2 separate regions of the Homo sapiens genome follow, and region 1 is linked to region 2. Evidence: promoter capture Hi-C in human tissues and cell types (Jung and others, 2019). All regions are on one chromosome and are shown on one strand. Each heading gives the region's core, a stretch centred on a gene start or on the middle of the fragment in contact. The rest is flanking DNA. Distances are from core to core; before and after follow the strand shown.

Region 1 (6,146 bases), core at 3,437-5,936, 110 kb after region 2:
ACACCATGGGCCCTGCTCCTTTACCCTCTTCCCAGCACTCCTGCCACTCACTTCCCACCTCATCTGCCCCCATCTCCCCATTGTCTTTCTTCCCTCTCTCTCCCAGCAAGAGCCCATTAGAAACCCTCCACAGATACTTCAGTGGCCTCTCCAACTGATGCCTAAGTTGTCACTAAATAAATGAGCCCAGGGCAGCCACGGTGCTAGGCCCTTCATATGGGCGATCTCTATTCTGCCACAGGCCACACTGAGATTTACAGCCAGGTTTGCCCCACAGCCCTGTCCCCCAGGAGCTGGGCCGGGCCTCCTGGGCAGGACAGGCCGAGTGTGAGCAGAGGGCTCTGAGAGGGGTGTGTCTGTGGTGCTGCCTGGACCCAAGGCCAGGAGCCGCCTCTCTTGCTAGCACTTGGCTTCCCGTTTGTAGCAAGGCTTCGTGCCTGACCTCCCTCTGGTCCTCACAGTGGGGCCTCACATGCAGCCCCAGGCCCGGTTTTCCCACCCTGCAGGCGACGGAGATGCTCTCTGCAAATGGTGTGTCAGGAGGACAGTGGCTGCTGCCACCCGTGGCACCTTTTTGTTTGTGTTTTTCTGCGGCGTTCCATATGAGAGAAGTCAGAGTGTGTGTGGCCACTCATCTCCTCTTGTCACTGTTTTTTGTCCCTCTCTAGTAACTTCAGGTCTGCATTAGCAGGGGAAGGACAAGCTGCTGTGGCACTACCTGAGTAGACATCATTTATATGGGGATGTTCAGGGGAGCAAGGGGGGCATCCCAGAGAGGGGTGTTCCTGAGCAGCTCGTCTCTCCTAGGCCTGTGGACACCCATGCAGGTTCTGGGGATCCTGAGGACCCCCTGCTCTTCCTCTCCCCTGTGCTACAGGGCTTCTTGGGGGCCACGTGGCTCTACCCTTGCCTACCCCCTGACTCATCGACCCATTTTCCTTAGCAACAGGTCTGAGATGGGATGTTTTCTTTGCCATATCTTGCCTCCAGCATGTATCTGCACTGCCTTCCAGGAGCCGGGCTGTTTCTGGCAGCAGGTCCCCATCAGACTCAAGATTTTCTGCTGTCATCTTTTTTTTTAAGCTTTTAACTGTATTTTTGTCTTATTCTCAAAGCAATATATAACCTTTGTAGAAAATCTAGAAGGTATAGTAAAATATAGGTGATTAAGGAAAGAAACTACCTATAATCCCCATTATCCAGAGGTAACAACTTTTTTTTTTTTTTTTTTTTTTTACTTTTTGGCATCATTCTTGCTAGTCTTTTTCATTTTTTTGGTCTTATTTTTAACTTTTATTTTTTAAAAGAGGATACCATAAAATCGACCTTTTTTTTTTTTTTAATCACATGTATAGATTTGTGTAACTATCATGCCACGAAGGGCCTTCATGCTGTCATTTTATTTTATTCATTTATTTATTTCTGTTTTTTTTCTTTTCTTTTTTTAGAGACAGGGTCTCACTATGTTGCTCAGGCTGGCCTCAAACTCCTGGGCTTAAATGATCCTTCCACTTCAGCCTCCTGAGTAGCTGGGACTACAGGCACGGGCCACCACACCTGGCTAATTTTTTGGATTTCTTTTTGTAGAAATGGAGTCTCCCTATGTTGCTCAGGCTGGTCTTGAACTCCTGGGCTCAAGTGATTCTCCTGCCTCGGCCTCCCAAGCAGCTGGGATTATAGGCATGAGCCACTGCACTTGGCCACTTGTATTTTCTAATTGCACAAATAATTTAAGAATAATATTAACAGCATTCTTGTTATCAGCAGTGCAAGGTTCAAGGGATACATAAGAATATAGTGCAGACAGTGAAAATCCCTCACTCTCCACGCCGTGCCCCTTCTCAGGGCTGGTCACCACTCACAGTAGAGGATGGATCCTTCCTTCTCCTTCCGCAGTGCTTCTACCTAAACAACAGGGGGTTGGTTGGCTGGGCATGGTGGCTCACGCCTGTAATCCCAGCACTTTGGGAGGCCAAGGCGGGTGGATCATGAGGTCAGAAGTTCGAGACCAGCCTGGCCAAGATGGTGAAACTCTGTCTCTACTAAAAATACAAAAATTAGCAGAGCATGGTGGTGCACGCCTGTAGTCCCAGCTACTTGGGAGGCTGAGGCAAGAGAATTGCTTGAACCCGGGAGGCAGAGGTTGCAGTGAGCCGAGATCATGCCATTGCACTCCAGCCTGGGTGACAAGACAAAAAAAAAAAAAAAAAAAAAAAAGGGGGTTGGGTTTTTTGTTTTTGTTTTTTAACATAAGTAGGACTACTTCCTATCCATTCTTCTGTGATTTGCTTTTTTTAACTTGTCAATAGGTCTCGAAGATATTTTCATGTAAATGTAGATATTGGCACATAAATCTACCTCAATCTTTTTAACCATTGAATAGTATTTTATAATTTGGATATGCCAGAAATTTTAAACCATTCCCCTACTGATAGGTATTGTATTTATCTCCAGTTTTTCACTATTCAAACAATACAGTGAGCATTGGTAAACATATATAATTGGGAAAATGTGTAAATATTTTTGATTAATTCCTAAAAGTGAATTTCCTTGGCCCTGGGGTAAGTAAGCTTGAGCTTTGGCAGATGCTACCAAATTGCCCTACAGAAAGGTTTTCCCAAACCCAGCGGGTGACAGAGCCTTTGTCCTTGCAGCCATGGATACTATCTGCCTTTTATATTTCTGCTAAGCTCGGCAAAACAGCAACTTGTCTGCAGCTATCTGACCTCTAGGGAAGCTGGACATCTTTTCATGTGATAATCAGCTTTTCATGTTTCTTCCATGGACCACCTATTCATACACTTTGCTCATTTTTCTGCTAGGTCTTTTTATTTATTTGTCTTTTTATTCTTGACCTAGAACTCTACAATTATAGATATTAATCTTTATCTGTTTTCTGTGTTTTCCATGTTCCATTAGTCTATTTCTTGCTCTAATTTTGTTTATGGTGCCTTTCATTGTACAAAGCTTTACATCCTTTGTAGCTGAGTAATAGCTATTATATTTATTGGTCACTGATCACACTTACTATGGATCAGGCGTTGTTCTAGGTACTTTCCATATTTTAACAGATTTAGTCTTCATAAAAAATTCGTGAATTTGATGTCATGATTAATTATTCTCATTTTATAAGTAAGGACGGGGAGACACCAAGAGGTCAAGAAACGTGCCAAAGGTCACATAGCCAAAAAGTGCAGCCAGGATGAAATCCCAGGCTGTCCCAGAGGCCACAGCCTAACCACTGAGCCATTCTGCAAGTCTGCCTTCTCCCATCCTGACCTCTGGGATTTGTGGGTTGTTTAGGAAATTCTCCCTTAGGATATTAAAATAGTGCCCTATATTTTGTTATAATGTTTTTATTTTTTAATTTCTTTCTTTAATTCATCTCTATTTTTCATTTGTCTATTGTGCCAGGTGGGAGGAAGGGATTTGAGACAGGGTCTCACTCTGTCACCCAGGCTGGAATGCAGTGGCATAATCATAGCTCACTGCAATTTCAAACTCCTGGGTTCAAGTGATCCTCCTGCCTCAGCCTCCTAAGTAGCTAGTACTACAGGCACACACTACCACGCCTGGCTAATTTTTTAAATTTTTATAGCAGTGGAGTCTCACTATGTTGCCCAAGCTGGTCTCAAACTCCTGACCTCAAGCAATCTTCCTGCCTTGACCTCCCAAAGTTCTAGGATTATAAGCATGAGCCACTGCATCTGGCCCTAATTTTATTTATTTAAGTCTTTTCTATGCATCTTTTTCCTTTACATAGTCCCCTTAACATTATCTTGTAGGTATTTTCATATGTTATTAAAAATGCTTTTTTTTGTACGTGCTTTTTGTGGCCACATAATATTCTGCTGTAGAATATAATGACACTGTAAATTGGTTAACTAGCATCATAATGTTGAAGGTTTGAGTTGTTTACCATATTTCCCATTATAAATCATGCTGCAAAGAACATTTTAATGCAAAAATATTTGTCTACATGTCTGATTATTTCCTTAGGATAGGAACCTAGAAGTAAAATTTTAAAAGCTTGTTTATCCACATTTTGTGCTAACATAAAGGAAAAAACAAACTCTTTGCATAAGAAGAGGGGTCATGTGATGAATAGAGGCATCTGTGAGTGTGTGAGTCTGCCCCAAGATGCCTGTAACTGTCAAGGAGTCCACTTTGGTGCTTATGCGTTTGGAAGCCTTAAAAGAGCTCTGAGGTCTCTGTAGGCCCCTCCACGCCCGTATTTCTGCTGGCATTTGTAGGAAACCCTCCCTCCCTGGCATGCCCCAAGCCAAATTCCAAGCAAGGCAGGAACCAGGCTCTTCTAGAGGCCCAAGTACTACCCCAGTACCCTGGCTACCAGGGAGCTTTACAGATTAATCTGGTCCTCTGGGAAATTCTGGTTCCAGCATCCAGGAAAGCCCTATAGCTGGCCTGTAGTAAAATCATAAGTATAATTGAATTTAATGAAATCCAGACGAATCCGAGGGCTTTGGGTTGACAGGAAGCCAACATTCCCACAGCCAGAAAAGAGCATGATCAAGGAGTTGATGTGCAGACCTCTATGCCAGATCACGGAAATCGGAGTAAGTGCACTTACACAGATGATAAAAGCCCAACAAGGAAGTTTAGCAATAAAACTTAATGGCCTCTCAAATCACAATCAGGACACAAAATGCAGTGGGCCGGAGTCCCGCTCCCTGCATGTAACCCTCCTCCTCCAACTGTCCCACAGCCAGGGACATCATGAAGGCCAGGCCCAGGAGGCTGGTCCTCAGGTCACCGCCAGCTCTATCCATCACCCACGGCTCCCCAAGACAGGAGGGTGTCTGGAAGGGAGGTGTTTTCTCAGCCAGACCTTTCTCCTCCTCTGGGCCTGGCCAGGCTCCTCATCTTAAACTCTGTTTGCAGAAGTTTATTGCTTAGCCTTAGTGTCTTATTCAGGGTCAGAGGGAATTGATGCTAGAATTGAAAACCTTAACAATATCAAGAGAATTCTAGGGTATGTATGGGAAACTTTAGAACAGCATCCTTAGATGTTAGAGATTTTGGGAGACACTTTTCTCCTAGTGAGGTGCAGAGGAGGCGCAAAGATGGTAGTGGGGAGGAGAGGAGAGGGGATGTGCATAGTAACTGGCTTGGTTGCCAGTTCTACTAATTAGAGGTGTTTAGTCAAATTAACGACTATTTGAGTGCAAGCCATGACCCTTGCCCATAAAGAATTTAGTCCTGCCAAACCTTGTGTGTACAGGTGTAAACCTAACAACCTAACAAGTCATGAGGCTAATTCATTCAGAAAGCGTGTGGAGCAGCGTGGTCAGTATCAGGAATATGGTGGCCAATTAGACAAGACAGCCGAGCCCCTGCCTGCACATACAGAGCCTCCATTCCAGTTGAGGGGATGGGCAGGGAACAAGTGAGCAGATTACTCCAGCTGCTTTGAGTACAATTGAGAAAATAAAACAGGATATTGGGAGAGGGCATGATAGCATGAGGCGCCTTTGGGATAGGTGGTCAGGGAGGGTCTCCTAGAAGGTGAAATTTGAGTGGAAGCCTGAGTGGCTGATGTAAAGAGGGGTAAGCCGCATACAGACCTGGGGGAAGATGTTGGTATGTATGCTCCAGGTGGGTAGGAAAGAACATGTTCCAGGGCCCTGGGGTAGAAATGAACTTGGTGTGTTGGGAGAAGAGGAGAGCCAGAGGCTGCAGTAGAAGTGACCTGAGTTGAGGTTGAAGGTAGGCAGGACTCAGCTTGTGTGGGGTCTGTAGCCATAATAAGTTTGGATTTGAATCTACCTGTGATAGGAAGCCACTGTAAAGTTTTAAGCAAAGGGATCTGATCTGATTGATGTTTTGAAAATATACCCCGGCTGCCCTTAAATATCAGAAGACAGCAATATCACAGTCACAAAGCAACACAAAATTAAATGCCATAGAAATATCTGAATAAGAAGTATTTTGTAATTAGAAGAGAGACAGATCATTCGATGGGGCTACAGTGAACTGGGAAGACTCAAAGCAGGGGCCAGAACAAAGGTAGGATTGCGAGGGGTTGTCCAGGGTGGATGTTGCCTATCCATCAGAGCAGGGGCTGGGAGGAAGAGGTGGCAGGTGGTGATGGCCCTGGGGGATTTGTCACTTCGTCTTCCAGAGCT
Region 2 (6,549 bases), core at 1,134-3,633:
AGACAAGTGTCTCAGGATCAAACTGGTGAACTTACTAACCTCTCTGGGCATGGGCTCGGCCCTGTACCTCTTTTTATCTACCAGCATTTAGCATGGTGCATTGCACATAGTAGGTGCTTAAACAGTGTTAGATGTCCACGGTGATGATTATGGTCGCTACTGTTGGCTTTGGAGGAGGAAGGCTCTGGCACTGGCTGCTTGGAAAAAGAAAAGGGATGGAAGATCTGCCATTCCTTCCCAAACTGGTGGTGATAGGTGTTGATATGGAGAAAAGAGCTCCCCCTGAAACCCACACTCACCTACACACACCTTTCCCAACACAGCAAGCCAGAGGCAGCCCTGCCCCGAGTGGTCTACCCCCACGCCCCAAGGCCCAGAACAGTTCTCACCGCCCCATGAGTGACCAAGTGGCAAGTTCCCCCATCTCTCCTATATTTTATCTCCTTTCCTCCTCCGTTGAAAATCTAGACTTCGGGAAAGGTACTGGCTGTTTCTTTCCAAGCTGCTTTCAAATCTGCCCCCCTTTTCCGTAATCTTGAGGTCCAGTTACAAGGTTCAAGTTCCCCTCTTGCCCCTTCCTCAAGGTCATCTGTCCCGGCTTAGAAAAGGTGAGAGGCCACTGCTGATTGTCAAGAAGAGAACAGGCTTAAAAAGATGAGCTGAAGTGGGGAGGCCGAGGAGCAAGCAGGCAGGGAGGGCTGTGGAGAGAGGCCCCGAGGCCGAAGTGGGTTGGGGTGCCTGAGAAAAGCGGAAGGAGGTCGGATTCACTAGGGGCTGAAGGAAAAAGATGGGGTTAGGGCCAGAGAAGGTAGGATCGTGGTGAGGTCTAGACACAGGCAAGCTTCCAAACCCTCAGTCCCAATTCCGTTGGCCGGGAAGGAGTGCATGCCAGGGTAGCCCGCCCTCCCGGCTCCTGCTGCTCTCACCCCGCCCCTCTGCAGAAAGCCTGGGCAGGATCGCAGGGGTGCGGGCAGAATCCAGCGCTCCTCTCTCCCCATCCAGACTCTCGGCCCACTCCCGCCTGGCGCGGCGGGCAGTCGGAACTACCCAAAGACTGGGCTCGAGGTGGGGGGCGGGGGCGGGGAGGAGGGGGCCAGAACGGCGCTGCAGGTGATCCTCCTCCTTGTTTAAAGTTTGCGGTGGGCAAAGGAGTCGGCTCCGTTGGGCCGGGTTTTCTCGAGCCTCGCCTTCTTCCTCCGCCGGTCCGGCGACCACTTCCCTCTTGGCTCCCGCCCCGCGCGGGTCCCCGATCCCCTCTCCCGTCTGCATCCCTCTCTGTGCCCGAGCGCCCCCCGCTCCCTCCCTCCTCGCTGGATCTCCCGCAGGACGTGAGCGGAAAGTGAATGGGCAGCCCCAACCACAAAGACAAATTACCATGAGAAACATAAATCGGGAAATCGCCGCTCGCGTCCCTGCTTCCAGCTGCCGCACCCCTCTCCACCCTCCCAGCCGGGAGTGCGGGGCCCTGAGCCACTGCCCCTGGAGCCTGGTGGGCAGAGTTCACGCTCCGCAGGCCTGGTCAGGGCAAGAGTGTCCTGGAGGCGGGTCTGGGAAGAATCCGGGCGGCGGCTCCGCAGGCGGCGGCGGTGGAGCAGGGACGTCCCTGAGCGGGAGATTTCACACTCTGGGCGGGCCACGCGTTCCCACGCGCCTCGCCGCCCGCACTCTCCCTCAGTGCTGTTTACTAGCCGGCCCTCTCTGAGCCTCCATCTCCGCACCTCTGTCCCTCCGTCCCTCAGCCTCACTCGTCCGTCTCCTTCTCCAGGCCTGGGTCCCGGGTCCCCATCGCCGCTGCAGCCCAGATGCGCCGACCACAGCCCTGGCAGGGCCCAGTGCAACCCGGACCCAAGCTGGCTGGCGGCGGGAACGCAGCAGCGATGAGGGCTCTCAAGCCGAGGTGGCAGCGGGAGGCGCGGAAGCCAGGGGACCCCCTGTCCTCCCGCCCGCAGCCTCACCTACCTGGCTTCAACTTGCCAGAGCCCGGACCCCTACCTCTCTACCCCGATACCCACCCGAGTTGCTGAAGTTTGCAAGTTGCAGCCCCAACCCGCGCAGGGGAAGCGCCCGGGGCTCCCGGGACTCACCTCCCAGAGGCGGGTGCAGGTGCCCGGTTCCCCGCGGCTCCCGACTCCCGGGCGGCGCGGAGCGGCGGGAGCTAACCAGATGGGCTGGCGGCCGGTCTGGGAATGGGGCGGCCGCGCAGGAACGGCCTCCAGCTCTCAGCGCTCCGGTGCAGTCCCCACCCGGGCCCGCGCCCGCTGCGCTCGGGCTCCCAGCAGCCGCTGGATGCGCTGCCGACCCGCCCGGCTCGGCGGAGCTGGGCTCTGGCACCAACCCCCGCGCTCCAACTAGCTCCCGACCCGGCGCTCGGAGAGAGCAGGGAGGAGGAGACCGCGGGAGCAGAAGGAGGGAGGGGGCGGTGGGGGAGGAGTTGCAAGCAAAGGGAGAGAAGGAGGGGAGCGGGAGCGAAAAAGAGGAGGGGGCTGGAGCAGACCTGCCGCGGCGGGCGCTGCACCCGCCAGCCTCGAGGCGCGCGGAGGAGCGCGAGGGGGCGCCCTGCATCCCGCGGCTGCTCGGCCGACTCCCGCCCCGGGCCTGCCGAGTGTGGTGACCAGCCCGGTGGGCCGAAGCCCCTTCCCCGGCCGGCATTCCGGCGGCAAGACCTAGGACTCCGAGCACTTGCCGCCGTTTGCCACATCCCGCCTTGCCGTTCTCGGTCACCCCATCTCGAATGTGACATCCCCGAGGGCCATCGGCGCGGCCTGCCCACCCCAACACTCAGGGCCTGAGGAAGCTCCCCCAAACCCCACTCCGGACTCCCACATTCCCCAGCCCCGTCAGTTCGGAACGATCTTCCTGCCTGTGGATTTGAAGGGGAAGGGACCTCGTGTAAAACGGGGGAGAGCCGTTATAACCTGCAGCGGCAGAGAGGGAGGCTAGGCTGCTGGGCTGGGCTGGAAAGCCAGAACTGGCCGGATTAGGGTTAACCTTGCAAACTGTACGATACCGAGCGAACCTCTCCAAGCCTCAGTTTCCTCAGCTGTAAACTGGGGTTAGTAATACGCACCCTACAGAATTGTGAAGAACGAGTAGGGGATACGGGGAGTAAAATAACATCAGGAACAGTGGGAGGGCAGCCAAGAGATGAGCGATCCGGGGAGGTGGTGGAGCGTTCTCAGCTGAGGACGGAAGGTTTAGCGCAATCACAAGGAGCGAGGCCGAATTGTTTACAAGTTTAAGTGATCTAGTGTTTCTGATGGCTAGAAGGCGGGAGAGAAAGATTCAAGGGGCAAGCTTCAAATCCTAGCTGCCCGGGCTGCAAGAGGGATGGGAAGGGAGCCCTCTGCTGAACAAAAAATATATTTGAAAATGTAAAAAAAGGTGACCTAAGAACGAGTGAGAAAGACAAAGGATTTGAAAAATTAAAACCAGGAAAGTGTGATTCTAAGAGATAACCAAAGAGAACTATGAAATAAAAATAGATAAGTTGGAGGAAGGAAAATATCAAAAGACTTTCTAGAGTATGCCAAAAATTGGATAATTAGAACAAAGTCTGAGTGAAGCATTTTACATAATAAAATTCTGGGTAAAGGAAAACCCAGATAAAGCAGAAGAATTGAGACACTAAGAGCCCCAGAGAAGCACCTCCTGCCTGCCATCCTCCTACCCCTGGACCATGGCAAGAAGCAGTTTGACAGGATAATGGGAAAGAAAGGGTGGTTCTGAATCCAAGAAGGGAGTTTATGAGACACTGTAAAAAGAGAAACAGTGCAAGATCTCAAAGATAGACTTTCTAGGGCAACAGAAATGCTGAAACTCATAATGTGCAGAATGGAGAGAAACTTGCAAAGGGAAAACACGCTCTGGACACAAAGGCAGAGATGCAGAGAAGAAAAGAAAGGAAACGGGCATGTGTGGGCATACCAGTCTGGTAGCCCAGTCTGGGGTAAAAATCAAGTTGGAAGAGGCAGCATGGGATATTGAGTCCAAATCTATCATTTTATCAACAAGGACAATGAGCTCTGGACCATTCTCCCAGAGTCCCAGGCTGAGATAGGGATAGGTCTCCTGATCTCCACCGTGGAACCTTTCCACTGCAATGAGCGTGCCCCCCCCCCAACCCCCATTCCCTGCAGAGCCATGGGGAATGTTTTTGTCATCACAAAAAATAGAAGTATGTGCAATATAGAGATACCTTTTAATTAACACAAAAAACCACGAAGCTATTCCATACTGCAGGACCAGGGAATGAACAGGAGAGCTTCCAATTTGTCTGGTTGGGAGAATAGACAAAATGCCTTCTGAGTGGCTCTGTCAGCCACAGCTCTCCCTTGAAAGATAACCAAAATATTCTCCACCCTTCACACATTCTCTCACCTGCCCTCTTGTTTGCTACCATGTTTTGATTGTGTTCATTCTTTTCTTCCCACTATCATGTCAAGGCCTTTCCTGGCTCTCCCTCTCCATGTTATAAAGTGGAGAGGGGGTTTGGGGGCTTGGCACAGGAAGGGAAGAGAGGAGACTCCAGGCTGGGGACACAAAGAGGGAAATTTTCCTTTTCAGGGGAAGCAGGAGCCAGGACAAGGAGGCACCCAAAGAGACAGACCAAGTAGCAGGGCAGCTAGCAACATTGGGCTAATTAATCCTAATTGCATCCTAAAGCATTGTATTGATTAACAGTGATTACTCAAGAGCTCTCAATACAAGAGAGCTTCAGAAGCCCAACCCTCCGGAAGAGACAGTTTCTTTACTGGCCTGGCTTACCACCTGCTCTTTGGCAAACCCAGCCTGGTTAGAATCTCTGAATCATTTACTTGGAACAAAACCTGGAGCATTGATTCCATCACCACAGTATCACAACCAGCTTCTGCCACCTTCCTTAGACCTTTGCAATAACCTATAAGATAATTGCTTCTGTTAGGAGCAATTCTTCTTCTACCGAAACATTGTAATTAAGCAGAATGGAAATATAGTAATTAACACAGTGTTATCTCAAGCAAACAAGCTAAAGAGCGGTGAATATAGGGGGTGACGGAGTTTTTAGGATTCACTCTTGACCTAGAAATTCCAAACTTATCTTGAACTAAGGTTGAAAGAGTTTAAGAAATAGATCCAAATTCTCATGCTCAAGAGCAGGAAAGGGTGGAAAAGCTAGGAGCACAACACTGTCTTCTTCCTCCCACCTGAGGGCATTTTCTGGGAGATAAAGCTAAAAAATGAGTGCAGGCTCTCCCAAGAGGCCATCTCTCTCTCTCTCTCTCTCTCTCTCTCTCTCTCTCTCTCTCTCTCTCTCTCTCTCCCCTCTATGTGTGTGTGTGTGTGTACACATGCTTGTGCATAGCCCAGGCACAAACACAAACCTTGTCTTGCAGCAAAAGGCAAACAGCCAGTCATATACTAATAGGAGACAGAGAATTGAAAATAAAAAGACAGCACGTATAATGTCCAAATTGTTTTCTGCTCCCAGAATTGCCTGCTCATTGTGCCTGGGGATGGCAAAGAAAAAAGAAAATTCCCACCCCAGAAGTCATTGTCAATTTGTGAACCAAAACCTTGCTCAGGTCAGAGGAACTGAAGTGTCACTGAATGACTGCTTTGCCATTGTCCTGAACTAATGTGAAAGAAGAGATCTTCCTTCCTTCCTTCCTTCCTTCCCATTTAAGTGTCACTCACTAAGCTAGGCAGAGAGGTCATAGGAAGAGCTTCACAGGCAGGCAGGGGAGGCAGACGTAATCATAGCAAATGCAAGGACTGCCACAGGATGGGAGCTCTGCGGGCACATGGAGAGCCAGTTACCATCCTACCAAACAGGACAAAGAAGTCTTCATTGGAAATGGCCATTCTAGCTGAGAATGGAAGATAAGGCAGGAATTTGCCAGACAGAGAAGCAGGAGGAGGCAGAGTATTCCAGGCAGAGGAAGTAGCATGTATAAAAGCACAAGGCGATATAATTAGATTTCTGTTTGAAGAATTACTTGCCCCTGGTTAACAGATTCAGAGAGAGCTGAAGCAGTAAATGTGAGCAGGTGTTTCATGTGGTGGAAAGAGCACCGCACCAGCAGTTAGGGCTCCCCAGTCCTAGGATGAGCTGGGCCACTGATGAGCTGAGTGTCCTTGGACAAGCCTCTTAATCTCTCCAACCTTAGCTCCTCCTGGATAAAATGAAAGGGGTTGATCCACTGGTTTGTAAGCTTCTCCTTGCACATGTATTCTATGATTCTGTCTCTACCTGAAGATACTTCTTTAAATCCTGCTCTACATTATGCTCTTTACCGTATTTGCACACTTGTTCCTTTCCTTGTGTATAGCACTTTACAGTTTACAAAACTATTTGCCATATACTATCCCCTTTGACCTTCACAGCCATGTGAGGGAGACAGCTACACTGAAGACCTAGATAAGCTTGTCCAGTCACTGGCTGTAAACCTCTCTGTGCGGATGATGCCCAAGTTTGTATCTGCAGCTCCGGCCCTCTCGCTCTCTCTTAAAATCTGGATGTATAGAACCAACTGCCTGCCCCTCCTCTGCATGACCATCTAAGAGACATCT

Evidence for each region. The method cuts DNA at HindIII sites, captures the fragments that hold promoters and counts their contacts. A contact is called where the count stands out against the background at its distance.
Region 1: a contact is called between a fragment that was not itself captured here and the fragment with the promoter of SEMA5B in region 2, in 2 of the 25 tissues and cell types used here (H1 embryonic stem cells and pancreas).

The regions. Positions count from the first base shown.
Region 1 is chr3:123,134,533-123,140,678 of GRCh38, forward strand. All of the region lies in intron 11 of PDIA5 (protein disulfide isomerase family A member 5), which reads left to right. Among named protein-coding and RNA genes, the nearest start is that of MIR7110, 24 kb to the right of the region's middle. The HindIII fragment of the contact is 5,721 bases long and covers 1,827-6,146 here.
Region 2 is chr3:123,025,380-123,031,928 of GRCh38, forward strand. SEMA5B (semaphorin 5B) reads right to left here and starts at 2,384. Exons shown (of 23, transcript NM_001031702.4): 1 at 2,085-2,384. RefSeq lists an enhancer at 2,988-3,495. The HindIII fragment of the contact is 5,774 bases long and covers 1-4,742 here.